Linked DNA regions of Homo sapiens: regions 2, 3, 4, 5, 6 and 7 are each linked to region 1. The links are contacts of gene promoters, found by promoter capture Hi-C in human tissues and cell types (Jung and others, 2019). All regions are on one chromosome and are shown on one strand. The core of a region is centred on a gene start or on the middle of the fragment in contact, and the rest is flanking DNA. Distances in the headings are between cores, read along the strand shown. Region 1 holds the start of RGCC (regulator of cell cycle). Region 2 holds the start of KBTBD7 (kelch repeat and BTB domain containing 7). Region 3 overlaps VWA8 (von Willebrand factor A domain containing 8). Region 4 overlaps VWA8 (von Willebrand factor A domain containing 8). Region 5 overlaps VWA8 (von Willebrand factor A domain containing 8). Region 6 overlaps VWA8 (von Willebrand factor A domain containing 8). Region 7 overlaps VWA8 (von Willebrand factor A domain containing 8).

Evidence for each region. The method cuts DNA at HindIII sites, captures the fragments that hold promoters and counts their contacts. A contact is called where the count stands out against the background at its distance.
Region 2: the fragment with the promoter of KBTBD7 here is called in contact with the fragment with the promoter of RGCC in region 1 in 1 of the 25 tissues and cell types used here (adrenal gland).
Region 3: a fragment that was not itself captured here is called in contact with the fragment with the promoter of RGCC in region 1 in 1 of the 25 tissues and cell types used here (dorsolateral prefrontal cortex).
Region 4: a contact is called between a fragment that was not itself captured here and the fragment with the promoter of RGCC in region 1, in 1 of the 25 tissues and cell types used here (mesendoderm cells).
Region 5: a contact is called between a fragment that was not itself captured here and the fragment with the promoter of RGCC in region 1, in 2 of the 25 tissues and cell types used here (lymphoblastoid cells and spleen).
Region 6: a fragment that was not itself captured here is called in contact with the fragment with the promoter of RGCC in region 1 in 2 of the 25 tissues and cell types used here (IMR-90 fibroblasts and lymphoblastoid cells).
Region 7: a contact is called between a fragment that was not itself captured here and the fragment with the promoter of RGCC in region 1, in 1 of the 25 tissues and cell types used here (mesenchymal stem cells).

The regions. Positions count from the first base shown.
Region 1 is chr13:41,455,963-41,459,891 of GRCh38, forward strand. RGCC (regulator of cell cycle) reads left to right here and starts at 1,588. Exons shown (of 5, transcript NM_014059.3): 1 at 1,588-1,794; 2 at 2,323-2,508. The coding sequence starts at 1,746. RefSeq lists a silencer at 1,361-2,200 and enhancers at 1,774-2,451, 2,501-2,630. The HindIII fragment of the contact is 31,337 bases long and covers 1-3,929 here.
Region 2 is chr13:41,192,025-41,196,025 of GRCh38, forward strand. KBTBD7 (kelch repeat and BTB domain containing 7) reads right to left here and starts at 2,545. Exons shown (of 1, transcript NM_032138.7): 1 at 1-2,545. The coding sequence starts at 2,233. The coding sequence ends at 179. The region is part of intron 3 of KBTBD6-DT (KBTBD6 divergent transcript); the gene reads left to right. RefSeq lists enhancers at 1,287-1,994, 1,995-2,701, 2,046-2,315, 2,626-2,715. The HindIII fragment of the contact is 7,226 bases long and covers 1-4,001 here.
Region 3 is chr13:41,774,079-41,778,374 of GRCh38, forward strand. It overlaps VWA8 (von Willebrand factor A domain containing 8), which reads right to left. Exons shown (of 45, transcript NM_015058.2): 20 at 3,907-3,978. Among named protein-coding and RNA genes, the nearest start is that of VWA8, 180 kb to the right of the region's middle. The HindIII fragment of the contact is 8,096 bases long and covers 1-4,296 here.
Region 4 is chr13:41,950,272-41,954,163 of GRCh38, forward strand. The region is part of intron 1 of VWA8 (von Willebrand factor A domain containing 8); the gene reads right to left. Among named protein-coding and RNA genes, the nearest start is that of VWA8, 8.9 kb to the right of the region's middle. The HindIII fragment of the contact is 3,084 bases long and covers 1,081-3,892 here.
Region 5 is chr13:41,867,830-41,871,943 of GRCh38, forward strand. It overlaps VWA8 (von Willebrand factor A domain containing 8), which reads right to left. Exons shown (of 45, transcript NM_015058.2): 10 at 517-648. Among named protein-coding and RNA genes, the nearest start is that of VWA8, 91 kb to the right of the region's middle. The HindIII fragment of the contact is 5,241 bases long and covers 1-4,114 here.
Region 6 is chr13:41,851,437-41,855,366 of GRCh38, forward strand. The region is part of intron 12 of VWA8 (von Willebrand factor A domain containing 8); the gene reads right to left. Among named protein-coding and RNA genes, the nearest start is that of VWA8, 110 kb to the right of the region's middle. The HindIII fragment of the contact is 3,996 bases long and covers 132-3,930 here.
Region 7 is chr13:41,791,314-41,795,408 of GRCh38, forward strand. All of the region lies in intron 17 of VWA8 (von Willebrand factor A domain containing 8), which reads right to left. Among named protein-coding and RNA genes, the nearest start is that of VWA8, 170 kb to the right of the region's middle. The HindIII fragment of the contact is 5,753 bases long and covers 1-4,095 here.

The DNA.
Region 1 (3,929 bases), core at 338-2,837:
GAGCACCGAATCCTAAGCACTAGACCACCAGGGGAACTTAGAACCTTGTGGGAAATAGATTGCGCACCATTAGAAGTGGGTTGGCCATCAGAAGGAAGCCTGGACAGGTCCCTTGTTTCTAAGGCGTGGCACAAGGTAACTGGTAAAGATACCTAGACCAGTTCCCATACATAGACACTTGGTGACAGCTGGTGCTAGAACCCCCACAGTGGCTGAGGGCATGCAGCAGCAATACTAGTAGCAAAGGGACAGATAGCTAAGGAAGGATCCCGCTCCACTCACCCAGGGAAATCAACTCCTGAAGTTCTGTTCGACCCCACATCAGAGGATCCATTGCAGGAGATGGCACCAGAGATCCCAGTGGTGTCCTCCCCTTAACAGGGAAAGAGGCTCCCCACTCTTGAGCCCACAGTGCTTGTGCCTCCACAAGACAAGCATATCCCTAGGCCACCCAGAGTAGACAAGAGAGGAGGACTATTCATATGATTAGTGGTCATTAACATATACTCCTTTGTGAGGTGTATGTTTCAATGTTTTGCTCATTTTTAATTTTTACCAGGTTGTCTATTTGTGATTACTTTGTAGATGGGTCTTTCTATATTCTGAAAACAAATCCTGGCTGGGTGCGGTGGCTCACGCCTGTAATCCCAGCACTTTGGGAGGCTGAGGTGGGCAGATCACCTGAGGTCGGGAGTTCGAGACCAGCCTGGCCAACATGGACAAACCCCGTCTCTGCTAAAAATACAAAAACTAGCTGGGAGTGGAGGCTGAATGTTTCACTCCGTTACATGTTAATTGCTCTACATTTAATTAGCCGTCTGTGGTGAGAGGCGAGAGGCTAGCGCCTAGCTCAGCGCACAGTCCAGGGCGTTCGCCCCCGCAGGCCGCGGGGCAGGGTGGCTCGTTACTCCGTGGACACTGCAAGGCGCCCTGTTCGCGCTGCGTCGACGCAGTAGTTTCTTCCCATAATAAACCCCTTCTAGATAAAGTCAGGCTGGCGGGAGCGCCCTGGACCGTAGTTCAGGCCCCCGCGCTCCGCGGTGGGAACAGTTCAGGACTCCCCCAACTCCTGCCCCTCTCGCCCCGACCCTCTCCACTCCGCCCGCCCACCATCTCGGAAGTCCCCTTGGGACAATGCGTAGGGGACCTCCGCGTCCCCGACACCCGACTGGGACACGGCCGCGGGCTCCTTCGTCCCTCACCGCCAGCCAGGGAGGCTCTGCATGCCCACGTCCACTTCACAGCCGAGGAAGCTGCGGCTCGCGGAGGTGCCTGGCACGCGGCGGGAAGCAGCAGAGCTCGCGCCCAGCAGTCAGCTCTGGTGACGCCGAGGACACCGCGTGGGCCGGGTTGTCAGGGCGCGGGGGCGAGAGGCGGGTAAATATTTGGGGCTGTAACCGGGGCTTCGGCGACTCCTCGTCACCGCGGTTCCAGGGCGGGCGCGTGGCGAGGGCGGTGCCTGGGGGCAGGGGCCTCCTCGGAGGGCGGCGGGGACAGACCCGTCGCCCCGGCTCCGCAGCCCCGCCCCGGCCCCGCCTCCGCTCCGGCCGCCGAAGGCTATAAGATCTAGGAACCCGAGCCGGTGGTAGGGCGGGCGCGGACCGTGCTGGGAGCGGCGCGGCTGGAGCGCAGCGCCGAAGGGACTGGCAGGGCTGAAGTGTGCGGGACAGCAAGCCCCCGAATAGCCCCGGCTGCCACCTCGCAGGACCCAAGGCCACGCGCGCCGGGCCCAGCTGAGCCGCCTCATGAAGCCGCCCGCGGCGCAGGGCAGCCCCGCGGCCGCCGCGGCCGCAGGTGAGTGCGGGGTCCGGGGTCCCCTTAAAGTCTCGGCTCTGCAGATGGCGGGTGAGAAAGGAGGGGCCCCGTGTCGTCCCTTCACACCCCCCACCCTTCCATCCTCCCCGGCGGGAACCTGTCCCCGGTCTTCCCGCGCGGGCGGCTGCAGCCTCCTTTCCGGCCCGGGCTGGCCCCCATGTCCCACCTTCCCTCCACCACCAGCTCCGCGCGCGCCCGGGGTTGGGGGGAGCGGCGGGGACAGGTAACCGGCAGCGCCTGGGGAGGAATCTGGCCGCGCCAAGTCGCTGGGTGACCCTGGGCCTGGCGAAGGCTCAGTTTTCTTGTCTGTAAAACGGACTTGGTAATAGAACGCACTTCGGGGGTGGTGGAGAAGATTACAAGGTAACAGCGACTGCGTGGCTGTCACTTGGCAGAGGCGCCAAGTGTCAGTTATCTTCGGGAACCGTGGCGGCCCCTCCTGGCCCTGGGAGGTGGTCCCGCTGCCCCCCTGACTTCCGTGCACTGAGCCCCTGGCCCTGCCCGCAGCCCCGGCCCTGGACTCGGCGGCCGCGGAGGACCTGTCGGACGCGCTGTGCGAGTTTGACGCGGTGCTGGCCGACTTCGCGTCGCCCTTCCACGAGCGCCACTTCCACTACGAGGAGCACCTGGAGCGCATGAAGCGGCGCAGCAGCGCCAGTGTCAGCGACAGCAGCGGCTTCAGCGACTCGGAGAGTAAGTGCGGCCCCCGCTAGGATGGCGCCGGGATCTCCCAGCTCCCAGGACCTGCCCCGCGAAGGCTGCGGCCTCAGTTTTCTTATCAGTAAACTGAGGAATGGTTTCCTGAAGCTCAACGCAGTAGGCCGAGTGGTGGCGGGGCCCCTGACGATAATCACGGGAAAGGTCGCTGGAGGGCAGGTTGGTTCACTTGCCGCCCACGGGTGTGTCACCAGGCAGGCGAGTTTAAGCAGCTTGTCCCGACTCAGCCAGACAGGACTCCCTGGACCTGCACCAGGCCTTTCCGCAGTTTCCCTCCTCTTCTCCTTTCCGTGCCTCTCCCCTCTCAGCTGTAACTTTGCAGATGTGGAACAAGTGCCAGTGGAATGAGGGGGCACAGTGGGGACATGGGAGGGCGCAGAACGGAAATATTCATGAAACCAGGAAAGGTTTCATAAGCCCAAACTGCTGTTCTTGGGATTTATGAAATAACTGCTTGCATTGTCTTCTGGCCCTTAGCTCTCAGACTTGTTGCTCCATTGCATGCAGTTATGAAAATCTTTGGCACTGCTGAGTTCAAGTATTTTTCAGCCAGGTCCTCCACCAGGCTGGAGGGGGAGCCAGAGAGCACATGGGCATGAAGGTGGTTCCTGGTGATCTTTCTCACAATGGAGACTACCCCAGGGTCTCTTTGTCCTGAACAACTTTGTCAACAACAGCAACAACAACAAAAACAACAAAAGAGACAGCTTTTTCCAGGAACTCACATGTCCTGGGAGGATTACAGGTACCTCAAACAGCAAATTAGGTGCCTTTTTAATATTACATGATTGTTGGTTTCAAATCCAGAATTGCTTATTGTTTTTCAAAGGGCAAAGTCAATTTTAAACTCTTCTGTGTTATTCTTCAGCCTTTAATCCTTAGATGGGTTACAGGCATGAATGTCACTCCTTTTGCTGCCCTTGACTCAGGACGTGAAAGTAATGGCCTTTCCGTGTGATTCTCTTATTTTGAAACCTGGAGCTCTTCCTTGTTCCTGGGCTAAGATTCGGGGCTAGACATGAACATGAGCTGCCCTTCTGCAAAGGGATAAATGCGCTCACCACCCTGGTCAGGGTTTGACTCAGGAAGCTGAGTTCCAGCTTGTTTCCTTGGCAGCACTGCCAAAGAGTTAGACCAAGCTGCAGCTTTTGAGGTGAAAGGGGATGGAAGAAAGTACTGTTACTTTTCCACTTAGAATTTTTGGACTTTGTTCTTAATGAATAGGTTCATTTTCAATTTCAAAGCAAAGTGTTAACATTTTTGAAATTTGTCTCAATTCTAAAGGCCAAACTTAAATATGTCTCCTCCTACTGGGGCATGGAGCAAGTTATTCATCAAATACAGATTCTCGCATGGAAAAGAAAGCTAGGATAGTGTGTCGCTGCTGCTCTGTGGCA
Region 2 (4,001 bases), core at 1,295-3,794, 260 kb before region 1:
GTAAATTATTAAACAGGTCGATTTCATGGACTGTCTAAACCTTGTAGTATTTCAAAATATTACCCTTTCTAAACCAAATCTGTGGTCCTAATCAACTTTTTTTCCAAGAAAAAGAAACGATATGTGTTTAAAATACATTCCGTAGCAGTAGAAACATCTTAGTGTCTCAAAATACTATTTACAAAGAACCCTGCTGATCCTGTGCATTTCGCTGAGGTGCTACTTGCACCCAGACTTCATCATCTGAAAAAGAACTTGAACTTCCTGACTCAGAGTCCAGCTCACTGAATCCATCTAAGTCCCATTCAGTACTAGACTCACTCCGTGCATCATCTTCCTCAGTAATAAAACTCTGACCAGGTTCAAGGCAGGAAGGATAAACACGAGCACAAAGGCAAATAAAGCCAGAGTCAAACTGCAAAAGGCCTAACATGGTACCTATATTAATCCACTGATCTTCCCTAGTATCATACTCATACACTGTCACTCGGTTCTTTTTCCATTGTGGGGTTGTAGAAGTGATGAGAAGCAACTTTTGGTCATGATTGACAATCTGGTAGTTGTGGGTCTCTGAATCCAAAGGAATATTACTAATCCGCCTCCATTCTCCCCTAGCTGGGTTGTAGACCTTCATGACTGGGATGTCACAGATACAATAGATTTCATCATTGAAGACACATGCTTCCTGAAAGTCACTACGTTTAAGAGAAGCACAGTTCAGCCACATATTGTGGCTAGGATCATAGCAAAGCATGCGCTTACTGTTGACAGCATAAAGATAGTTCTGAACCACTATGAGTTCAAAGGAATAGAAGGAATGAGGGACAGGAGCCACCAATGCCCACTGGTTTCTCTGAACACTGTAGCATTCCACTTCCTTCAACTTAACTCCAGTAATAGGGTCTCGTCCCCCCAAAATGTAGATGTAGCCATTGAGATATGCCACATCCATGCCCTCACGACACAGCAAGCGATCTGCAAGTTGCTGCCAACTATTCTGAGCTGGTTTATACACCCAGAGGTCTTTCCTGGGCTGAGCAGCTAGATAGATGTCATGGTCTGGGGACACACAGACAGCTGAGGAGGTGACAGTCTTAGTGTGAGCAAAGCTGGTCAAAGGGGATGGCATTGTGTAAATGTCCCCCGAGTAAGGGTCATAGCAGAGAAAGGGATCTCTAGGATGTCCAAAGAAGATCACCATCTCCTTGGCACACATACCCAGTCTCTGGGGTGGATTTTCTGCTGCAGATACAAGAGAGTTGCTGCTGCTACTGCTGCTGCTGCTGTTTGGCACTGGCACCAGAGACTTGTACAACAGGTCACCATAGCGCATCTGCAGGGCCCCTTCAATAACGTCCAGGCAGTACTTCTTCACGATGGGCTTGGTCAGCAGCCCTTCTAAGTAGTCCTGATCTTCTTCAGTGAAGTGCATCCAGCGCACGCACTTGAAGACTTCTGCAGCACTGGGACCCCGCTCTTTGGCAGCAGCCTCCAGCCACTGCACAGCTACATGGCATACAGTCCGCTCACTCTCTATGTCCAGACTATCCAGGCGTAGGACAGCCAGCAGCTGGGCCAGGGTTAGATCTGCTAGAGTCTCCTCCCGAATTGAACCCATTCGGCTGAGCTGCTTGAAGTTGTGAGCTATGTAGGACTGGGCCTGAGATCGAAGCTTGTGATGGTCGAAGGCGTCTGCAAACTTGAGGATGGCGGTGCAGTTGGTCAGGTCAAGACGTCGGGCTAAGAAGGAGGCACAGGCTTCCCGCACATATTCCAGCTGTAGCATGTCGGAGGCCGCGTACAGGCGCTGCACATTGGCCTCACTGAGAGACACACGACCCGTGTAGCAGTAGTCGACCAACACCTCGAAGGACTCGGCGTCCACATCGTGCATGGTCACGCTGGCCTGCTGGCTCTCGTACATGCCACCTGTGAACATGCTCTTGAAGTAGGGACACGCAGCTGCTAGCACGTTGCGATTGCAGGAAAAGAGGCGACCCGTGCCAGGCCCGCTGCCAGGCGTCACCACCTCGATGGTCACATCACACAGCAGCCGCGCGTCGTAGAAGGACTTGAGCTGTGCCAGCAGGGCTGCAGAATGGGCCGTGTCCTTTAACTCCTCTGGACCCGTGAAAAAGGCCGAAACCGAGGGCTTGGAAATCCTCTTGGGCCGCCTCCCACCACGGGGACTGGCGAGGCGGCGAGAGCGCGGGACGTCTTCCCGGGACTGCATGGTGGAGATGGCGACGGGCGCTGACGGCGAGAAAGGCTGCAGGACCAGGCTCTGGCTCCTCCTCAACCTTCCCTCGCTGACGCTAAGACAAGCCGCGTCCTGGAACAGACTGCGGCACGGGCCGCACTTCTGAATTCAGCCCTATCCCGCGGTGAGGCCTCCCTTTATTGCATAGACAGTGGCTGACTCACCCTCTCTCACTCCCGCGCCCTTTCTCCGCCTCCGCTCGCCCTCACAGGACCCGCTGGCTTGCAGCCGCGGAAGCCCCCACTGCCGCGCTGGCGATCCCGCTAGGCGCCCGGGAGAACTACTGCTCCCAGGTTGCCTTTCGCGCCCCGAGGCCTGCTGGGGCTCTCGGACGGCCGGGCGGGGACAGAGGGAAAGAAACCGCTTTGCATGTTGGGAGTAGTAGTTTGTGTAATATCGCGAGCTGTCCTTTAGTTGACTGCTCTAACAGTAGAAATTAATTCTCCTGGATTTGATGGTGAAGAGACTGTTGCCCAGGCTGGTCTTGAACTCCTGAGGGCTCAAATTATCCTCCTGCCTCGGCCTCTCAATGTGCTGGGATTACAGGCGTGAGCCACCGCCCCCTGCCAGTATTTCATAGGGTTTTGTGTGGTTCAATGATACCTTACATGGGATACTTAGATACATGTATGTTTTTGGTTAGAAGAATAGTAAAGCGTTACCCCGTGCCTAGAATGTAGCCAATAACTGTTAGATTCTCTTTTATAATTTATGATAAATGAGGCACCCACTAATTTGAAACCGAGTATTATTTTAAACCGCAAAATTTTACAAAGAATTTCTAGTTTTTAATGTTTATTCCTTCGAAAGATTTTGAAGGGCATTAACAATATTTTCAATATTAAATGATATCTATTGGTCTCGTTTAATAAGGATGTCTTAGACGACTAGGTTGAGGTCCTAAAGAACAGTATTAATAGATGGTCTCAAATACGCAAATCCAGCATATAAAAATAAATTATTTGCTGCTCTCACTAACATTTCATCTCTGGAGAGCAGGAGTATTTTCGTTAAGCTCCAAATATGAGTGTTTTCAAGTCGTCTAATACAGCCTCTTTCACTGCCGTTCCACAAATCAATTAACAGATTATGTAATTCCCTTTATTAAGGAGTTTTAGGGAGTATTTTAACTCAAAATATTTCAACAAACAGACTTTGTTCTGTACAAAAGCACATGATTCTCAGAATTCAACATCAGTACATGCCCTGACATTCCTTGAATTAATATATAGTATAGTCTATGCTTTACAAAGTCTTTTATATTTGCATTGGGATCAACAGTTAAATCATCAAAATCAAGTATTAGAGATTTGAGGCAGGAAAATAGGGTCTGGAGGCAGGGAACATAAGGCTGATTCACACTTTAGCTATAACAGGAAAGATCCTCTCCATAGGGTGTATGCTGAGTAAATGAGTTTGTAACTTTACTTCATTCTCTTCATTTACATAGGGTGTACACCAAGTAACCAGTGGAATCCTCTAGAGGGTATTTAAACCTTCAGAAATTCTGTAACAGGGCCCTTGAGCCCCTATGCTCAGGCCCGCTCCCCACTGTGGAGTGTACTTTCATTTTCAGTAAATCTCTGCTTTTGTTGTTTCATTGTTTCCTTGCTTTGTTTATGTGTTTTGTCCAATTTTTTGTCCAAAACGCCAAGAACCTGGACACCCTCCACCAGTAACAGACTTTTTCAGATAACTTTTATTACAAAACCATGACTGCTCCTGCTGCTAGTTTGTTATG
Region 3 (4,296 bases), core at 557-3,056, 320 kb after region 1:
TTTAAATTCATATTACTTCTAAATCATTTTGGCTACTCATTAGGAATTTATTTATTTATTTATTTATTATTATTTTTTTGATATGGAGTCTCGCTCTATCTCCCAGGCTGGAGTGCAGTGGCACGATCTCAGCTCACTGCAGCCTCCGTCTCCCAGGTTCAAGCGATTCTCCTGTCTCAGCCTCCGAAGTAGATGGGACTGCAAGCGCATGCCACTTCACCTGGCTAATTTTTGTATTTTTTAAAGTAGAGACAGGGTTTTGCCATGTTGGCCAGGCTGGTCTCAAACTCCTGGCCTCAACTGATCCACTCACCTTGGCCTCCCAAAGTGCTGGGATTACAGGCATGAGCCACTGCACCCAGCCAGGAATTTATTTCAGATAGTCCTTTAAAATCTACTAATTAACTCAGCAAGTATTTGTTGAATGTCTACGGTATGCAAGGCATCAGGGAGACACAAAAATAATGAAGACTCTTTATCTCTTTTTCATAGAGATGGTGGGTAAATACATAAATCTAACTAAATCCCAAAAGAAATCTGTAAGTGACCTATCACACTTCAGAGAGTGCAGTCAAGCCTTCAAGCCATAGCATTCACAAGCACTTTATTAAAGAAGCATATTCTAGAATATTACAGCCAGAAAGACCCTAGAAAATATCCATGCCAAGCCTATAATTTTATAGATAAGAAAAAAGAAAAGGCCCTAATTAGAAGGAATAACTATTTACTCAGTATCACATATCAGTTGATATCACACATATCAATTTACTCACTAACAATTTACTCAACTATCACAGAGAGTTAAAAAATCTGAAAAGGAAGGAAGGTCTTTGGGTACCCAGCTTATTACTTTTCCATGATGCCACATTGCCACTCTGAGGTTAAGAGAATGTGAATGGGCAAAGGTAAGAGAAAGAAGAGAGCATGCTGGCAAAGATTAGAGGTTGAAATATAACACTGATAAGAAGGTATGTTTGGGAAACAGAGTATTTAATTTGTCTGAGGAAAAAAAGCATTTACAGGGAGAAACCAGACACCAGGCTGAAAGCAGAGCAGGATTAGATCATGGAGGACATCAAATGACAGTCTAAGAGAGTTAGACTTTTTCACTATATAATATAATGAACATAGGTAGCAGAATTTACTTCCAAAAAAACATTCCTTCAACATTGGTATTATAATATAACACTGATGGTCTTAGAGGTTTATAATCAAAGAACAGAAAACTCTTTTGATATGAAAAGGGTCAGCTAAACATAGCAAATTATACTGAATACAATCTCCCTTTGTAATTTCTTCTTTCTCCAAAGTGGAGAGTGGCAGGATAAGAGTACAAGATGGCAAGACAGTGTGATCTGCTGACCACAGATGGCTTTTGCAAAATAACTGATAAATGAAAGTTTGTGCCAACCCGTGGCTCCTGCCTTGCTCTTCGTGGGGATCTTCAACTTGAAGGCTCTATCTAGCTGAATCCTGAACCAGTCCTAGACAGGCTTGAAAATCAGTGGGCTTGACCATCCTTATCAGATGCTGGAGTCCAACCATCTACCTATGGAGCTGTAGCTGCCCTTCCCTCCACCCCGCTGCCTAGCTCTTTGCTCTAATGCCTTGTTCCTTTCTTTAGGACTGGAAACAAAAGAGAGATAGCATATTAGATTTTATGCCAAGGTTTGTATAGCACCCTAGGACAATTCCAAAACACTTTCACAGTCTCTGCTTCATTCATCATAAAGCAGAGGCAAACCTCTGTTCTACTTCACCCTTCACTCTGAATAGCTCTCCCCAATCCTCCAGAGGTTAAAACATTCTTCCTGTCTCTCTGGTTACTGGCTAGGCATTAACTTCAACCTTTTAAACTAGAAGACCCTCCTGAAACTCTAATCTATTACCTGCTCAATTGCAAGTGCTACCTTTGCCAAGAAACCAACTGCATCTAACCCACCAAACCCTCAGGATAGCAATACCATGACAGAGATTTCAAAACCACTTGGACTCCATACCTTGACCTCTAGGGATCTTCCTTTTAAAAACCTGCACCTTAGAAAAATTATTCCTCAAGCCCCAGTTCTGTATAGTCTTGGTCTATTCTCTTCTCCATGCTGGTCTGCCGCTGCTGGGATGCCAAAAGCCTCTGTGTCTCTGGCCATTCAGGTGATGGCAGAAGTTCTGAAAAGGACACACTGAGTGCACCAAGGTTTAACTTATAAAGAGTTTGTGAAACTCTTATAAAAAATTTACAAAGTACTTTGGGCTATATACAACCTGAATGTCCACAGAGCCATTGTTTTTCAAAGTGTGATGAGAATGTGACTTCCTGGGTTTCAATATCAAGAGCCAAATTCTGACTGTTAACTGATCTTCATCTTCCCACTCTGGTATATAGGTTCATCTTTTACTGTTCAGTGAAGAAAAATAGGTAGGACTTTTCAAATAGTGGGAATTAAAGGGTCATAAATAATTTATTGTTCTAGTTTTAATTCTTGTTTTAAAAAATGAAACAAGAGAATATTACTTTTAAACTATACAGTGATACAGAGGTATTTAGCTGACAGAACTGAGCACTGTGTGAAGCACTTCCCACGCATTATCTCATGACATCCTTACGTTAGCCCAAAGGGACCATACTATTTTTATTCCCAGGTTAGACATCAAGAAACTGAGCCTTAGTAAGATAAGCAATTTGCCCAAAGTCACACAACCATATGTGGAAGAGTTGCTGTTGAGCCTCTAGTTATCTAATTTCTAAGCCTATGCACTCAAATCAATAAAGCACACAACTGGCCCATTTTTACTTTTATTTTTAAATCAGTACTTCAAAATGATAAGTTTGAGAGGCTAAATATATAAAGAATATGTATTATTTTTATAAATACAAAAAAGAAGAAAAAATAGAAACCAAACTTTAGAAGCTTTGTTACCCTTAATTTAAGACCAATTTAAAAAACCAAAAGTGCTGTTCACTGTGAGCCTGAAAATTCAATAGAGGAAAATTATCAGGACCCTGTAAACCTAAAATTTTCATACGTTCCTCCATAAACATACATTGAGTGTCTACTATGTAACAGGTACCATGCTAGGAGCTGAGAACAGAGATAAATAAGAAAAACACAGTCCCTGCTCTCAAGGGACATATAGACAAGTTGCAAAGACAGTCATATGGTATGACTAGTATGACAAAAGGGAGATAAAAGGGAGTAGAAGCAGGAAAAACCTATTCAGCCAGGGACAAGGGAAGGTCTCTCTTCCATGAGTTAAAGGGAGGGTATATGGGAAGGGGACAGGAAGTTCTCCCTGCAGAAGGAAGAGCATGTACTGAGGACCAGAGCAGAGATAAGTAACTGAATAGATAAGGAACTGCAGAGTGCCTCAAGCCAACACAGTGAGAGAAAGAAGGGGCCATGGCTTAGGAATAGAGGGGTGGGCAGAGAGTGAATCCTGTACACTGTACTGAAGACTCAGACTATACCTAACAGAAATGGGGAGCCAATTTCAGCAAAAAAGAGAGGCTCAATCAGATTTTAGTTTTACAAGTATCAATCTGACAACAGATACTACAGAATGGAGAGTAGATAAGAATGGGCATAAGGTGGGGATGGAGCTATCATAGGAAACTACTGCTGCAATCCAGGTGACAGGTGAAGATCACTGGGGCTAGAGTGACAGATGTGGACAAGAAGAGTAGATACTTATAAGACAGAATGTACATAACTTGATGAGGGACAGAATGGAGCATGATTTAAACCTTGAGGTAATTTTGAAGTTTAGAAGGTAGCAGAGTCTCATCCTTTAATTAAACCAGTCATTTAATAGGGGAAAAAATAACTGATTCCAACAAGAAGAAACTTACTGCTTTTAAATTGTTACTATCATTTTTTCATTGGTACCTAGATTTTAGCCATAACTCACCTGGTTGCCAACCAATAATAAGTGTTCTCCAAGGAGAAAGTCTTTCAGCATATCTTCCATCACTATCACATGCTAGAGAAAAAGGAACTAGGGGTTAACTGTTTTGTACAATCAAGGTTAAATAAGAAAGTTAACTATAAAGATATCTTTATAGAATATAAATATCTATTATAATAAACAATTATCAATCGATTTGATATAACCCAAAATTAAATCTGTGGTTATAAGTAAATTATATAACCATTTAGGTCACTGATACTGAAAACTTGAAATAGTCCACCTGAGCAAAACTAAGCAACTGACCAACATTTCAGAGTTTTTAATAATTCAACTCAAATATTTTTTTACCTATTATACTATGTAGAGTTGGCTTATAATTTAATATTTAAA
Region 4 (3,892 bases), core at 1,373-3,872, 500 kb after region 1:
GCTTTATTTCATGAATAGCAACATTAATATAGGCAAAAGCAATACAGAAGAATGCATTTTGTTTAAGATCATTCAAAGTATCCATAGAGTAAAATCTTTTTTTTTTTTTGTTTTTGAGATGGAGTCTCACTCTGTCACCTGGGCTGGAGTGCAGTGGTGCAAGCTCAGCTCACTGCAAGCTCCGCCTCCCGGGTTCACACCATTCTCCTGCCTCAGCCTCCAGAGTAGCTGGGATTACAGGCGCCTGCCACCATGCCCAGCTAGCTTTTTGTATTTTTAGTAGAGACGGGGTTTCACCATGTTAGCCAGGATGATCTCGATCTCCTGACCTCGTGATCTGCCCGCCTTGGCCTCCCAAAGTGCTGGGATTACAGGCATGAGTCACCACACTCAGCCTTTTTTTTTTTTTTTTTTTAAGACGGACTCTTATTCTGCCACCCAGGCTGGAGTGCAGTGATGTGATCTTGGCTCACCGCAACTTCCGCCTCCTGGGTTCAAGTGATTCTCCTGCCTCAGCCTCCTGAGTAGCTGGGATTACAGGTATGTGCCACCACATCTGGCTAATTTTTGTATTTTTAGTAGAGATGAGGTTTCACCATGTTGGCCAGGCTGGTCTTGAACTCCTGACCTCAAGTGATCCGCCCACCTCGGCCTCCCAAAGTGCTGGGATTACAGGTGTGAGCCTCCACACCCAGCCCATAGAGTGTTACCTTTAACACAGATCCTCAACCTTTTTACATATCTTTGTACACCCGTATTTTTACTGCATACAGTTTCAAATTATCCAGCAACATATCCTCAAACTTCAACATTTCTAGGTGCATAAAAGGAATAAAGCCCCAGTGGCATAAATGCCAAGAACTGGCCAGGTGCAGTGGCTCACGCCTGTAATCCTAGCACTTTGGGAGGCCAAGGCAGGCGGATCACTTGAGGTCAGGAGTTAGAGACCAGCCTGACCAACATGGTAAAACCCCGTCTCTACTAAAAATACAAAAATTAGCTGGGCGTGGTGGTACGTACCTGTAATCCCAGCTACTTGGGAGGCTGAGGCAGGAGAATCGCTTAAAGCCAGGAGGCGGAGGTTGCAGCAAGCCAAGATTACGCCACTGCACTCCAGCCTGGGCAACGGTGCGACACTCCGTCTCAAATAAATAAAAAATAAAAGCCAAGAATTCCTACATGAAATAAGCAAAAGCAGGCAAAAGTTTTCAGTAAGTTCTATACAGTTCTATTTTTTAATGTAACCTTAATTTCCGAGTGATCTTCTAAAGCCGAGGACTAAACTGAATAATCTCTCCCCGCTGTGCTCTCTCTAACAGCAAAATAGGCATGGTGATACCATTTGCATCTAGAATTTCATTTGGAAAGGGCTCAGAGACACTCCAAAAAAGTAGTCGTGCAAAACTCATCTTTCAGCACTGCCAGTTTAAAGCTAGCAAGATACCTTGAACACTAAGGCCTTAAATCATGGTACTAATAACAATAGCCAACATTTGTTGAATGCTTACTACCTTCTAAGTATTTTTTGCATTCTCAAAATAATCCTATGAGACAGAAATTTTACAAATGAGAAAATTTGTAAATCCATAACAGAGTTTTTAACAGATAAAGAAATTTATTACAGGTATGTGGTAAATTGAGAGAGGAAGATAAGGACTACACACAAAGCTAAATCCCTGCTAGGTCCAAAACTGGCAGCCAGAAAAAAGCAAGGCAAAAGATGATGAGGACCAAAATTCAAAAGCCTGCAAAGCTCCTCCATAACCCGTGCACCGCTCCCTTTTCCTCCCCTGTCCAATTAACTCTTTGTCTTCACGCAATCTATCACAGAGATTCTCAAAGCATCAACGTCACCTGGGAACTTGTAAGTCATATAAATCTTCAGGCCCCACCTCAGACCTACTGAATTAGAAACCCTAAGGTCCAGCAATCGGTGTTACAATGAGCCCTCCAGATGATCTCTAATGCATGTTTGAGATCATTTGGTCGTTTAAGTTCTAACACCCTCAAAAAACAGGTGGTCAGCAGTGCCTCATATAGTACAATCTTAGTTACTGCCAGGTATTGGTTGACTGGTCATCTCGCCCTATTTTCCTTAATGCAGGAAAGAACCTATAAATTAGCTACTTTCTACAGTAGCTTTTCTTTTAAAAGATAAGCTTGCTTACAAATATAAGTGATATTATCTACTGGCTTTTATTACAGAGTAGTTTCAAGAATTATAGTTACAGTATTTTCAAATAGGATGTCTTTACAAATGTTATTTCACTTCCTGAAAAGACTGTAATTATTTGGCCTCCTGACAAAATGATACTGAGTAATTAATCTGAACATAAGAAAAACGTTTTCAGGCACAGGTTCTCATTACAAACATTCCCTGAGTGTTAGAGCTGACCGACATCATCCTTCTAATAAATAATCTAGAAAAAGGGCAGACTATACAAATTCATGGTAACTTGACAATTGGCTGTCCATTTTTTTTTTAAAAAAAGTAAAATTCATACCTCACATTTCTGAAAGACAGTACATTCAAACTGAGTAACTGAGGAGAGTACAAAAAGGGAACTATTTACAAAGGTATAGCAGAGTTTACGGAAACCAAAAAAGATGGTGCAGTATCCTAGGACTAGCAATAACAGAAAGTCATTACCGCCCCTAGGCCTGAAGGGGCAAGGGGAGAGAGCAAGCAGAGAGGGTCACTGTGTTAGGAAGCCTCCTTCTGGGTAACACAGCAAACCCATAATGGTGACCTGGCAGGGAGGGAGCTGGGAAATAAACATGAAGCAAAAACGGACAGAACTAAAAGTGGAAATAGAAAAATGCACAATCACATCTAGATATTAATAGCTTTAAGTAGCTCTCTTGGTAAATAATGGAAGAAGTAGGAAAAAATAAAGAAGGATACAGGATAAGGATAATTTTTTCTCAGCCTTCTGGCAAAGACCAAGTATAGACGTAAAGAAAGAGAAGATTGGAAAACATTATTAATCACTTGGCCTAAATGACATTTATGGAACACTACACCCAACAACAGAATGCATATTCTATTTATTATTTATTTAAGTATTACTGCAAGTATGTTTTTATTTTCTCAACCTATCAACTGAATATTGTATTTTATAAAGCACTTTTTAGTATTGTAATTGGTTCCTCATGATCAGAATGCATATCCTTTTTAAATGCACATGGAACATTCACCAAAATAAATTATAGGCTGGACCATAAAGCAAGTCTCAAGGAATTTAAAGATGAGACCAGGCACAATGGCTGGTGCCTATAATCCCAGCACTTTGGGAGGCCGAGGTGGGTGGATCACCTGAGGCCAGGAGTTTGAGACCAGCCAGACCAACATAGTGAAACCCCATCTCTACTAAAAATACAAAATTAGCTGAGCGTGGTGGCTGGCACATGCCTGTAATCCTAGCTACTTGGGAGACTGAAGCAGGAGAATTGCTTGAACCAGGGAGGCGGAGGTTGCAGTGAGCCGAGATAGCGCCATTGCACTCCAGCCTGGGCAACAAGAGTGAAACTCTGTGTCAAAAAAAATTAAAAAAGAAAATTAAAGGATGGAAGTCATAAAGATTATGTTTTCTTACCACAGTGGAATTAAACTGGAAATCAGTAACAAAAAGGTAACTGGAAAATCCCCAAACATTTGGAAATCAAGCAACAGGCTTCTTAAAAAATCCAAAAAATAAATCACAACGGAAATTGGACTCATTGGGAAACAGGGTGGTGATCAATGAGCCACATCTGCAATAGACAAAAGGGAAAAGTTATGACATTCATATGGACCAGGCATCTGCCATCTCTGCCTCAAACATTGATGTTCTTGGCCATCTTCTGTTACTACACTACACTTTCCTCAGTCATTTAATCCATACCAATGTCC
Region 5 (4,114 bases), core at 809-3,308, 410 kb after region 1:
TATAGTAAGACTCCATAAAATGTGTGTATATATACACATATAGATATATATAGAAGGAGCTGATATATATATAACATATATACATGCAGATGGAGCTCTATGACCAAATATTATTTCCCTCTCTAAAAACAATTCAACCAGAGCAGATCCTTTTTAAACCGTTTCACATAGCTAAGAAAGATTTTACTTGAAAATAGGTCTCTGTAGCAGCTCAAATGTTTGAAAACACTATTTCTTACCAAGGACTCATAGCACAAAATGCTGTCAGTAATCAGCCTGTGACTTGATTTTCCCACAGGTCAACTTTGAATTTTTGATGAAAGGCTTTCCCTATGTTTCTCCTGAACTTTTCCAGTTTATAAGCACACATGACTCTGGAGACATAGACATATAGATACCGACAGAAGCAGTACTATCAAGAGAGAAGACTTACAAGGAGATCATAAACCCAATTTAGGTCATAAAAACAGGCAGAATAAGGTATATCATAGAAAGAATAAACCTGTGATTAATTACCTTAATGGTCACCTCTTTATCTGCAATCCGGATGGTCACAGAAGCTTGGGACACATGGTTTTCCATCATCTTCTCTACTTTTACAATCTCTTTAGGAAGTAGAGAGCTTCCTGAATCTTGAAGTTCAAAGCGCTGTAAAATTACAAGAAAATCATGCAATTTACTTTTCATTTTAGCATTAACATTGGCTATCTGACAGATTACACCTTAATTACAAGTGAAATCCATTTTATATTATTATATAAAAGTAGAGGTTAGGCCAAGGGCGGTGGCTCAGGCCTGTTAATCCCAGAACTTTGGGAGGCCAAGGCGGGCGGATCAGAGGGTCAGGAGATCGAGACCATCCTGGCTAACACGGTGAAACCCCGTCTCTACTAAAAAATAGAAAAAAAATTAGCTGGGCGTGGTGGCGGGCACCTGTAGTACCAGCTACTCGGGAGGCTGAGGCAAGAGAATGGCGTGAACCCGGGAGGTGGAGCTTGCAGTGAGCCGAGATCGCGCCACTGCACTCCAGCATGGGCAAAACGGCAAGACTCCGTCTCAAAAAAAAAAAAAAAAAAAGGAAAAAAAAAAAGTAGAGGTTAAAAAAAGTTAACGAAAATTTTTTTCTATTCCTACTAATACCATTCTACTTACAATAATTATTAAAGATCATATTAAAATAGTCCCTAAAATTTACTAAATGACAAGAAATGGAATCACTGAATTCCTGACCTGGTAGAAGTTCATAGTTTACATTTCTTGACAATCAACTTCCTAGAAGGAGATGATGAGACCCTTCAAAATATGCTGAAATAGGCCCATATTGGTTTATTCTTTAAATCAATCGAAGTTAATGTGTTACCTGAAATTCATGAAAACAGAACTTCTTGGCCATCATTCTGCTGTCAGCTATGTGAATAGCTTAACTAAAATTATTATAACAATTTTCCACAGCATATGGTACAGTGCTTTCTACACTATAGGGGTCTCAATATTTGTTGAACTGGATTTAAAAGGCTAGAACCACCAGGCACAGTAGCTCATGCCTGTAATCCCAGCACTTTGGGACGCCAAGGCAAGCGGATCACCTGAGGTCAGGAGTTCGACACGAGCCTGGCCAACATGGTGAAACCCTGTCTACTAAAAATACAAAAATTAGCTGGGCATGGTGGCACGCACCTGTAGTCCCAGCTACTTGGGAGGCTGAGGCACGAGAATCCCTTGAACCCAGAGACAGAGGTTGCAGTGAACTGAGATTGTGCCACTGCACTCCAGCCTGGGCAACAGAGCGAAAACTTTGTCTCAAAAAAAAAAAAAAAAAAAAAAAAAAAAAGGCTAGAACCATTGATTCTTGATGTGGCCCAATTATCAACGTTCTAACATTGACTACACCACTTCATTCCAGCTAGCTATATCAAAACTACACAGAAAGAATACAGGTAAGTATGTGAAAGATGAAAATAAATTGAAAATTAAGTTCTATGCCTTATTTATAACAGCATGCTCAATATAAAAAACTGAATTTATTTTTACTATTAAATAGGCAGAAATTAACCCCCAAAATCCTACACTAGTTTTGGAACATTATTACTATAGTGAAAGAGTTGAAACTCAATGAAAGAACAGATCATCATGTATTCAGCAGAATGAAAGAACTCCAGAAAATAGATTTGGGAGGAAGAAAATCATGTTTAACCTCAACATTCTAAACTTAACATCCCAGTTCAAGTCTTCATTTTGATGTCATAAGTACTCAAGACAATCACTAACTCCTTTCCCCAAACCTAAAAAAAAACCTGTGAATTTATACTGCCATTAAAAAGTTCTATATTTCATACAATTTATATATGCAAATCCCCACAGTATCACATAATTTGACAAGAATTGCTTCCATGTTGTAGACAAATAACAACTATTGACACCTTAATTTCATGAAAAAAAAAAAGTTCCACTGTATTTTAAGGAGAACTCAACAGGAAAGGAGCAAGACCTACCCAAGTAATTAAATTCATTAGAATGTAGAACAAATGGCTGGGCGCAAAGGCTAATGCCTATAATCCCAGCACTTTGGGAGGCAGAGATGGGTGGATCACTTGAGGTCAGGAGTTCAAGACCAGCCTGGCCAACATGGTGAAACCCCGTCTCTACTAAAAATACAAAAATTAGCTGGGCGTGGTGGCATGTGCCTGTAATCCCAGCTACTCGGGAGGCTGGGTCAGGAGAATCGCTTGAACCCAGGAAGAGGAGGTTGCAGTGAGCCAAGACGTGACACTGCACTCTGCTTGGTGACAGAGCAAGACTCCGTCTCAAAAAAAAAAAAAAAAAGAAAAAAAATTTAGAACGAAGATTCATTAAATTCTAGGAAAACAAATAAATGAGCTTAAATGTATGTTTTCCCACAGCTAGAGTAGTGTCAATCTAACTTGATACAGGAGTGACGTCAGAGGACACATATTCCAGAAATAAACACTATGTCCTGAGCCACTTGCTACACTGGTTATGTCCACACAAATAATTAAAGCTAAAATATTTTAGTAAAATAAAAATAGTAGGCCAGAATACACTAAGATAGTAAAAACCTCAAATTGCAAGGTGAATTATCATTTTCTGGCATGGAAAATTTAGAGGATTGTTACTCAGAAAGGTATTAATCAGAAAGGTACCCCCATATTCTCTATCTCCAACTCCATCATTTAAGTTTCTCAGTCCAAAAGCTTGAAATCACCCTTACCTCTGTCTCAACCCTGCATCCAACCCTTCAGCAAATCATAATGATTCTACCTTCAAACTATAACCCAAATGCAACTACTTCTTATCAACATCACAGCTGGTCAGAAGAACAATAGACATATAATTATTTCAGGTTACTTCCTAGCAAGAAGTAGAAAATAAGAGTTTGTTAACTTACCACTTTCTGAGTATTTCCTATGAATTCTTGAATTTCAATTAAACAGTATTAACATTTTCTTTTTTATTTTTTTAAATTTATTATTATACTTTAAGTTTTAGGGTACATGTGCACAATGTGCAGGTTAGTTACATATGTATACATGTGCCATGCTGGTGTGCTGCACCCACTAACTCGTCATCTAGCATTAGGTATATCTCCCAATGCTATCCCTCCCCACTCCCTCCACCCCACAACAGTCCCCAGAGTGTGATGTTCCCCTTCCTGTGTCCATGTGTTCTCATTGTTCCATTCCCACCTATGAGTGAGAATATGCGGTGTTTGGTTTTTTGTTCTTGCAATAGTTTACTGAGAATGATGATTTCCAATTTCATCCATGTCCCTACAAAGGACATGAACTCATCATTTTTTATGGCTGCATAGTATTCCATGGTGTATATGTGCCACATTTTCTTAATCCAGTCTATCGTTGTTGGACATTTGGGTTGGTTCCAAGTCTTTGCTATTGTGAATAGTGCCGCAATAAACATACATGTGCATGTGTCTTTATAGCAGCATGATTTATAGTCCTTTGGGTATATACCCAGTAATGGGATGGCTGGGTCAAATGGTATTTCTAGCTCTAGATCCCTGAGAAATCGCCACACTGACTTCCACAATGGTTGAACTAGTTTACAGTCCCACCAACAGTGTAGAAGTGTTCCTATT
Region 6 (3,930 bases), core at 880-3,379, 400 kb after region 1:
ATCTCAACTTGAATTGTATCTCCCAGAATTCCCACATGTAGTGGGAGGGACCCAGGGGGAAGTAATTGAATCATGGAGCCTGGTCTTTCTCGTGCTGTTCTCGTGGTAGTGAATAAGTCTCATAAGATCTGATGGATTTATCAGGGGTTTCCACTTTCACTTCTTCCTCATTTTCTCTTGCTCCAGTGATGTAAGAAGTGACTTTTGCCTCCCACCATGATTCTGAGACCTCCCTAGTCATGTGGAACTATAAGTTCAATTAAACCTTTTTCTTCCCAGTCTCGGGTGTGTCTTTATCAGCAGTGTGAAAATGGATTAATACAGACGGGATTTTCTGCTTTTTAAAGGCTGAATAATAATTCATTCTGTATATACTGCATATTTTCTTTATTCATTTGTCAATGAAAACATGTTAATTACCTATCTTGGCTATTATGAATATGCCACAATAAACATGGGAGCACAGATATTCCTTCAAGATACTGACTTTATTTCCTTTGTATATACACCCAGAAGTGGGATTGCTGGATCATGTGGTAGTTCTGTTTTTAATTTTTGAGGACCCTCCATACTATTTTCTATAATGTATGTACTAATTTACCTTTCTACCAACAACGTACAAGCATTTCTTCTCCACATGCTTACCAACATTTGTTACCTTTTATCTTTTCGATATTAGCCACTCTAACAGGTGTAAAGCAATATTTAATTGTGGTTTTAATTTGCATTTATCTGATGATGAGTGATGTTGACCACTTTTTATATGTACCTGTTGGCCATTTGTATGTCCAACAAGTATATTTTAAAATGCCTGAGAAATGTCTATTCAGGTTCTTTGCCCATTTTAAAACTGGGTTGTTTTATTGCTACTAAGTTGAGTTCCTTTTACAGTTTAGAAATTAACTCTTTGTCAGCTGTCATTTGCAAATATTTTCTCCCATTTTGTAGACTGACTCTTCTCTGTTGATTGTTGGCTTTGCTGTGCAGAAGCTTTTTAAGTTTGATGCATTTATCTCATTTATCTGCATTTATCTCATTTATCTATTTTTGCTTTGGCTGCCTATGCTTTTGGTATCATCTCCAAAATACTGTTACCCAGACCAATATCTGCAAGCTTTTCCCCCTTCTTTTCTTCTAGTAGTTTTATAGTTTCAGTCTTACATTTATGTATTTAATCCATTCTTAGTTGATTTTTGTATACGGTATGAGATAAAGGTCTAATATCATTGTTCTGCATGTGGATATACAATTTTCCCAGTACTATTTATTGAAAAGACTATCCTTTCCCCAATATGTGTTCTAGGCTCCTTTGTTGAAAACTAACTAGCCATTAATAGTATATTATTTCTGGGCTCTCTATTCTGGTTCCATCCATCCATATGTTTGTTTTTAATGCCATGCTATTTTTATTACTATTCCTTTGTGGAATATTTTGAAACCAGGTAGTGTGGTGCCTCAAATGTTGTTTCTCAAGATTGCTTTGGCTATTTGAGGTATTCTGTGGTTCCATATGAATTTTAGTATTTTTTTTCCATTTCTGTGAAAAATGTCATTGGAATTTTGGTAGAGATTGATTGCATTGAATCTGTATTGCTTTGGGTGGTATCGTTAGTGTTTTCTATATATAAGATCATGTCATTTGGAAACAGAAAAAAGTTTTACTCCATCTTTTGTGATTTGGGTACATTTATTTCTTTTTCTTGCCTAATTGCTTTAGCTAGGACTTTCAATAGTACATTGAATAGAGTGGTGACAGTGGGCATCCTTGACTTGTTCCAGATCTTAGAGGAAAAGCTTTCAGCTTTTTACCATTGAGCATAATGTTAGCTGTGGCCTTGTCATATATGGCCTTTATTATGTTTTGTATCTGTGGTCACCAGGGATATTGGTCTGTAATTTTCTTTTCTTGTAGTGTGCTTGTCTGGCTTTGGTATCAGGGTAATAATGGTTTCACAAAACGAGTCTGAAAGTATTCCCTCTTTTTCTATTTTTTTAAAAAGTTTGAAAAGGTTTGGTTTTAGTTCTTCTTTAAATGTTTGGTACAATTCACAGGTTAAGCCATCACATAATAGGATTTTCTCTGGTGGCAGGTTTTTGATTACCGATTCAATCTCCTAACTCATTATTGATTTGTTCTCATTTTTTCATTTCTTCATGATTCAGTCTTGGTAGGTTACATATTTCTAGGAATTTACCAATTTCTTTTAAGTTATTCAGTTTGTTGATGTATAGTAGTCTCATGAGCCTTTGTATTTCTGTGCTATCAGTTGTGATGTTTGTTCTTTTGTTTATAATCTTGTCTCTTCACTTATTCATCTAGCTACAAGTCTGTAAATTTTATCTTTTCAAAAAAATCAACTCTTAGTTACACGGATCTTTTCTGTGGTTTTTCTGTTTTCTATTCTATTTCATTTTTTCAACTAGACATCTATTGTCCATGAAGGAAACAGAGTTGAAAAGCGTGTTGTCCATGCCTTCAAGGAGCTTACAAACGATAGGAGAGACAAATTGCTGTTTCATCAATTCCAAGATATACATGTTTTATATTTTAATATCTCTGAAATCAGGGTGCAGCTTCAATTGATAGAATCTTAACAACAGTTGCTGAAGAGTCAGTTACCATTGTGTACATATATGTGCACTTGTTTCTGCTTGTTTGTTAGTATGTTTGTTAGCTTGTGGCTTAAAGAAACAACTGTAATCCATCCATGTTTTAGTCAACAAATTACTCTTTTCCATTTGGGAAAAGAATATGAGTTCTAGTTGTTGCCTAAAAACATTTCTGTCAGTACCTTTGGTTAAAATTTTAAAAATATCAGTATCAAAACCAGCAGAATGGCTGTCAGTAGCTTGGAAGACAATTGGGGAAACAATAGAAGAGCATTCTGTTCCTGACCAACCAAAGGAACACACAGAGAATATACGTGAAACAACATGAACATCTGCAACTGAATCATAAAGTGCTTTAGAAGAGTCAGACTATGATGGTGCATAAGTTTTAAAAATATTTCAAAATATTTTTTATTGTTATATTTATTTATAAATTTATTATATTTATTTTTATTTTATATATATTTTCCTATTTATTATATTCATATTTTCCTTTTTCTGCATGCACAGGAGGAATATAATCTAAATTAAGTCTGGAAGAGTTCTTTAAGACAAATATGAAAATTCTAAGTGATAAAGTCTTATATCGTAATTTAATTTGAAGTACTTTTTCTTTCTTAGTGGTGCATCTTACAATTGAGTGCCTCTTGGAGCTAATGAAATACAGTAGTTATTACAGTACAGAATGATAAGTGCCATGAAAAAGGCCATTAAGTGATGCTGAAACAAAGAGGGAGTACATATAAATTAAATTCAAGATTTACAGAAATTCAGAGCAGGCAGTGGAGCTAAGTTTTAAAGGTTAGCAAATTGGCCTACAGGCTCTGAGGGGTGGTTCAGGCAGCATGAAGAGTGCAAGAAAGCATGGAGTGGTAGGCAGCAAGTCATGTTGGGGAAACTGCAAGTCATCCCTTAAGGCTGGAGTTATAAGGTAAATGTTAGTTGCACAGTTGAGGTCTTACAGGGGCCAGATAAAAAAGAGCACTGTGTGCTAAACAGCATAATTTCAATATTATCTTGCAAACTGTGAGTCGTGATTAAAAAATGTGAAATAGGGGGAAAATTAGAAAGAACAAAAATCAGTATTGTAAGGATGGATTGGGCAGATCCCAAGCTGGAAATGAGTGGAAAGCTTAGAAAGCTAGTGTTGACAAATTCATTGAGAAGGGCTGAGCACCAGAAATAAAGCTACTGTAGCCCATGGCTTGGCTGTTGGCGGCAGCAAGGTACCCACCCAATGGCCCACCACGGGTTTAAATATATATATATTTATTTATATATATATAATATATAATATATAAATATATATTAATATATATT
Region 7 (4,095 bases), core at 711-3,210, 340 kb after region 1:
TAAGAATTTTTTGTGGTCAGTTGATAACACTGGAAAAATTAGTCAACTATTTGATTCAGTGAATATGTATGAGAATGAAAAGTAACCAATTTTTGTTTTTCAGTTTTTTTAATTATGAAATATTTCAGTATTTCAGAAAATTAAAGAGATTATAGAAAATTATGAAGACTATTAAACATTCTATTCATCTCTCTCCATCTCTAGAGAGAACTCTAACCTTGAAACTGGTGTGTATTTGTTGTCCATATTTTTATATTTTGCTACGTAAGTGTGTATGAATAAAAAATATATTGTACTGTTTATCACATTTAACATTTTGTACAAATCACATCATATACTGAATCTCCTTTTGCAACTTTTTTACTCAATATTAAGGTGTTATGATAGATAACTGTAAATGCATGCAACTTACTTCATTTTGACTGTTGTAAATTATTTTATCATACAAATATATCAATTTATATATTCATTTCCTACTGATGGACAGATGGGCTGTTTCCAATTCTTCATTATTACAATGATACAGTGAACATTCCTGTATATACCTCCTTATATACACATGTAAGTCTATCTTTAAAGCAGATATCGAGAAGTGGAATTGTCAAATCATAGAGTAATAATATATTTAGGCAAAAAAAAACTGTTGAAACTTCCATCCCAACAGCAGTGATGAAATTACATTCCTCTCCATTCATAAAAAATGTTACTACAAGTAAAAAATTTAAAGTATAAAATGATAGCTGATTATTATTTTAAATTTCATTTCACTGATTATTAATGAGGCTGAGCATGTTTTCAAATGTTTATTGGTCATTTGAATTATTTAAACTTTGCATAAATATCTATTCATTCTTTGCCCATTTGGAGTTAATTCTTTTTCCTTATTAATTTGTAGTTACTTTATAGTCCCTGAATGCCAGTGCTTTCTTAATCAAAAATCATCCAAAACATCTTTCCTAGTTTGTGGGTTATAACTTATAAAGTAGTTTATAGTGTCATATAACTGGATTTTACCTTTTGTGTGGGATAAATTGGAAAATCTTTATTTATAACCATGTATTGACAAGCCAACATTGATTTACAATGCTACATCTTATATACTAAGTTCTCACAAATATGTAGGTTTGTTTCTGTGCTCTGTATCTATTCTAATAGTCTATTTGTTTTTCCCTGTACCAACACATACTATTATAATGAATACAGATTTAGAATTAATATTGATATCTAATAGGTTAAGTATACCCTCATTAATCTTATCAAAATTTCTTGGCTATTAGTAGCCTATTATACTTCCATGCCAATTTTGAGACCAGCTTGTCAAATTCACTATAATCTTGTGGGATTTTGACTAATTATATCTAAATATCAACTTGGAGGGAAACAGTTTTACAATACTAAATCTTCCATTTATTTGTCTTCTTTTATAACTTTGAATAAAGATGTATACTTTTCTCCATTAAAGCATTACATGATATTTATTAGATTATTCTTAGTTGTGCAAAGCTTTCTACTATTATTTTGAATGAAATTTTTAAAAATTATATTTCCTTATTGATTGTTACTGGAGTATAGGAAATGTCATTGATTTGGGAGTATAAATAACCTCACTAAACTCTATTTGTTCTAAATAATTTATTTGTATTTTCTCTTGTATTTTTAATGTAGCTAATCATATAACCTAGGGCAAATGTACTTGCTAAAAGTGCTGAAAGATATTCTTGTTTTGGTCCTAACTCTAAAGAAAATGTGACAAGTATTTTGCCTTAAGAATATTTGCTGTAAATTTCTGGTAGATATTCTTTATGAGATTAAAGAATTTCCTTTCTGCTTGTAGTTTACTAAGAATATTCCAGATTTACTAAGTTATATTTGTTTTTGCTTTGGTTTGTTTTTAGGGCTGGCTATTGAATTTTATCAAACACTTTTTCTCCATTTAGTAGAATAATTTTTCCTCAACTAATAAGAAGATGAATTAAAAAACAGAATATCAAACCTTGACATTCTTGAGGTAATTCCAAATTGCTCATGAACCTTTAAATATAATATACCTACATTTGAGATAAATAAGAAAGATATGTTTTAATAGATGGAAGTGAAAAGAGGAAATCTCAGAAATAAACATTACCTTTTTCTGACTGATTGAATGTGTCCTCCCTAAGATTCATAGGTTGAAATCCTTTTGCCCATAGTAAAATTGTCAATTAAAAATACAAATTTAGGTCGGGCACGGTGGCTCACACTTGTAATCCCAGCACTTTGGGAGGACAAGGCGGGTGGATCACGAGGTCAAGAGATCGAGACCATCCTGGCCAACATGGTGAAACCCCATCTGTACCGAAAATACAAAAAACAATTAGCTGGGCCTGGTGGTGCACGCCTGTAGCTCCAGCTACTCAGAAGGCTGAGGCAGGAGACTTGCTTGAACCTGAGAGGTGGAGGTTGCAGTGAGCCGAGATCGTGCCACTGCACTGCAGCCTGGCGACAGAGCAAGACTCCATCTCAAAAAAAATAAATAAATAAATTGAAAAGAATATTTGCTGCATGTGGCTAGCCAGTTCTCCCAGCAGCATTTATTAAATAGGGAATCCTTTCCCCATTGTTTTCGTCAGGTTTGTCAAAGATCAGGTGGTTGTAGATGTGTGATCTTAGAATTTCTGAGTTCTCTATTCTGTTCCATTGGTCTACGTGTCTGTTCTTGTACTAGCACTGTGTTGTTTTGGTTACTGTAGCCTTGTAATATAGTTTGAAGTCAGGTAGTGTGTTGTCTCCAGCTTTTTTTTTTCTTAAGATTGTCTTGGCTATACAGGCTCTTTTTTAGTTTTTTATGAATTTTAACATAGTTTTTCCTAATTCTGTGAAGAAAGTCAATGGTAGTTTAATGGGAATAACATTGAATCTATAAATTACTTTGGGAAGTATGGTCATTTTCATACTAATTCTTCTTATCCATGAGTATGGAATGTTTTTCCATTTGTTTGTGTCCTCTCTAATTTCCATGAGCAGTGGTTTGTAGTTCTCCTTGAAGAGGTCCTTCAATTCCCTTGTTAGCTGTATTCCTAGGTGTTTTGTTCTCTTTGCAGCAATTGTGAATGGGAGTTCATTCATGATTTGGCTCACTGCATGCCTGTTGTTGGTGTATAGAAATGCTAGTGATTTTACACATTGATTTTGTATCCTGAGACTTTGCTGAAGTTGCTTATCAGCTTAAGAAACTTTTGGGCTGAGACAATGGGATTTTCTAGAAATAGGATCATGTCATCTGTAAACAAAGATAATTTGACCTCCTCTCTTCCTATTTGGATGTGCTTTATTTCTTTCTCTTGCCTGATTGCCCTGGCCAGAACTTCCAATACTGTGTTGAATAAAAGTGGTGAAAGAGGACATCCTTGTCTTGTGCCAGTTTTCAAGGGGAATGCTTCCAGATTTTGCCCATTCAGTATGATATTGGCTGTGGACCCCATCCTTATGCCTTATACAAAAATTAACTAAAGATGGATTAACAACTTAAATGTAAAACCCAAAACCATAGAAACCCTGGAAGAGAATCTAGGCAATACCATTCAGGACATAGGCACAGGCAAAGATTTCATGAGGAAAACCCAAAAGCAATTGCATCAAAAGAAAAAAATTAACAAAAGAGATCTAATTAAACTAAAGAGCTTCTGCACAGCAAAAGAAACTATCATCGGAGTGAACAGATAACATCCAGAATGGGAAAAAAATTTTGCAATCTATCCATCTGACAAAAGTCTAATATCCAGAATCCACAAGAAACTTAAACAAACTTACAAGAAAAAAACCCACCCCATTAAAAAGTGAGCAAAGGACATGAACAGACACTTTTCAAAAGAATACATTTAGGCAGCCAACGAACATGAAAAAAAGCTCAACATCACTGATCATTAGAGAAATGCAAATCAAAACCACAATGAGGTACCATCTCATGCCAGAAAAATAGCAATTAGTAAAAAGTCAATAAACAATATATGTTGGCTAGGCTGTGGAGAAATAGGAATGCTTTTACACTGTTGGTCAGAGTGTAAATTAGTTCAACCATTGTGGAAGACAATGTGATGATTCCTCAAAGATCTAGAG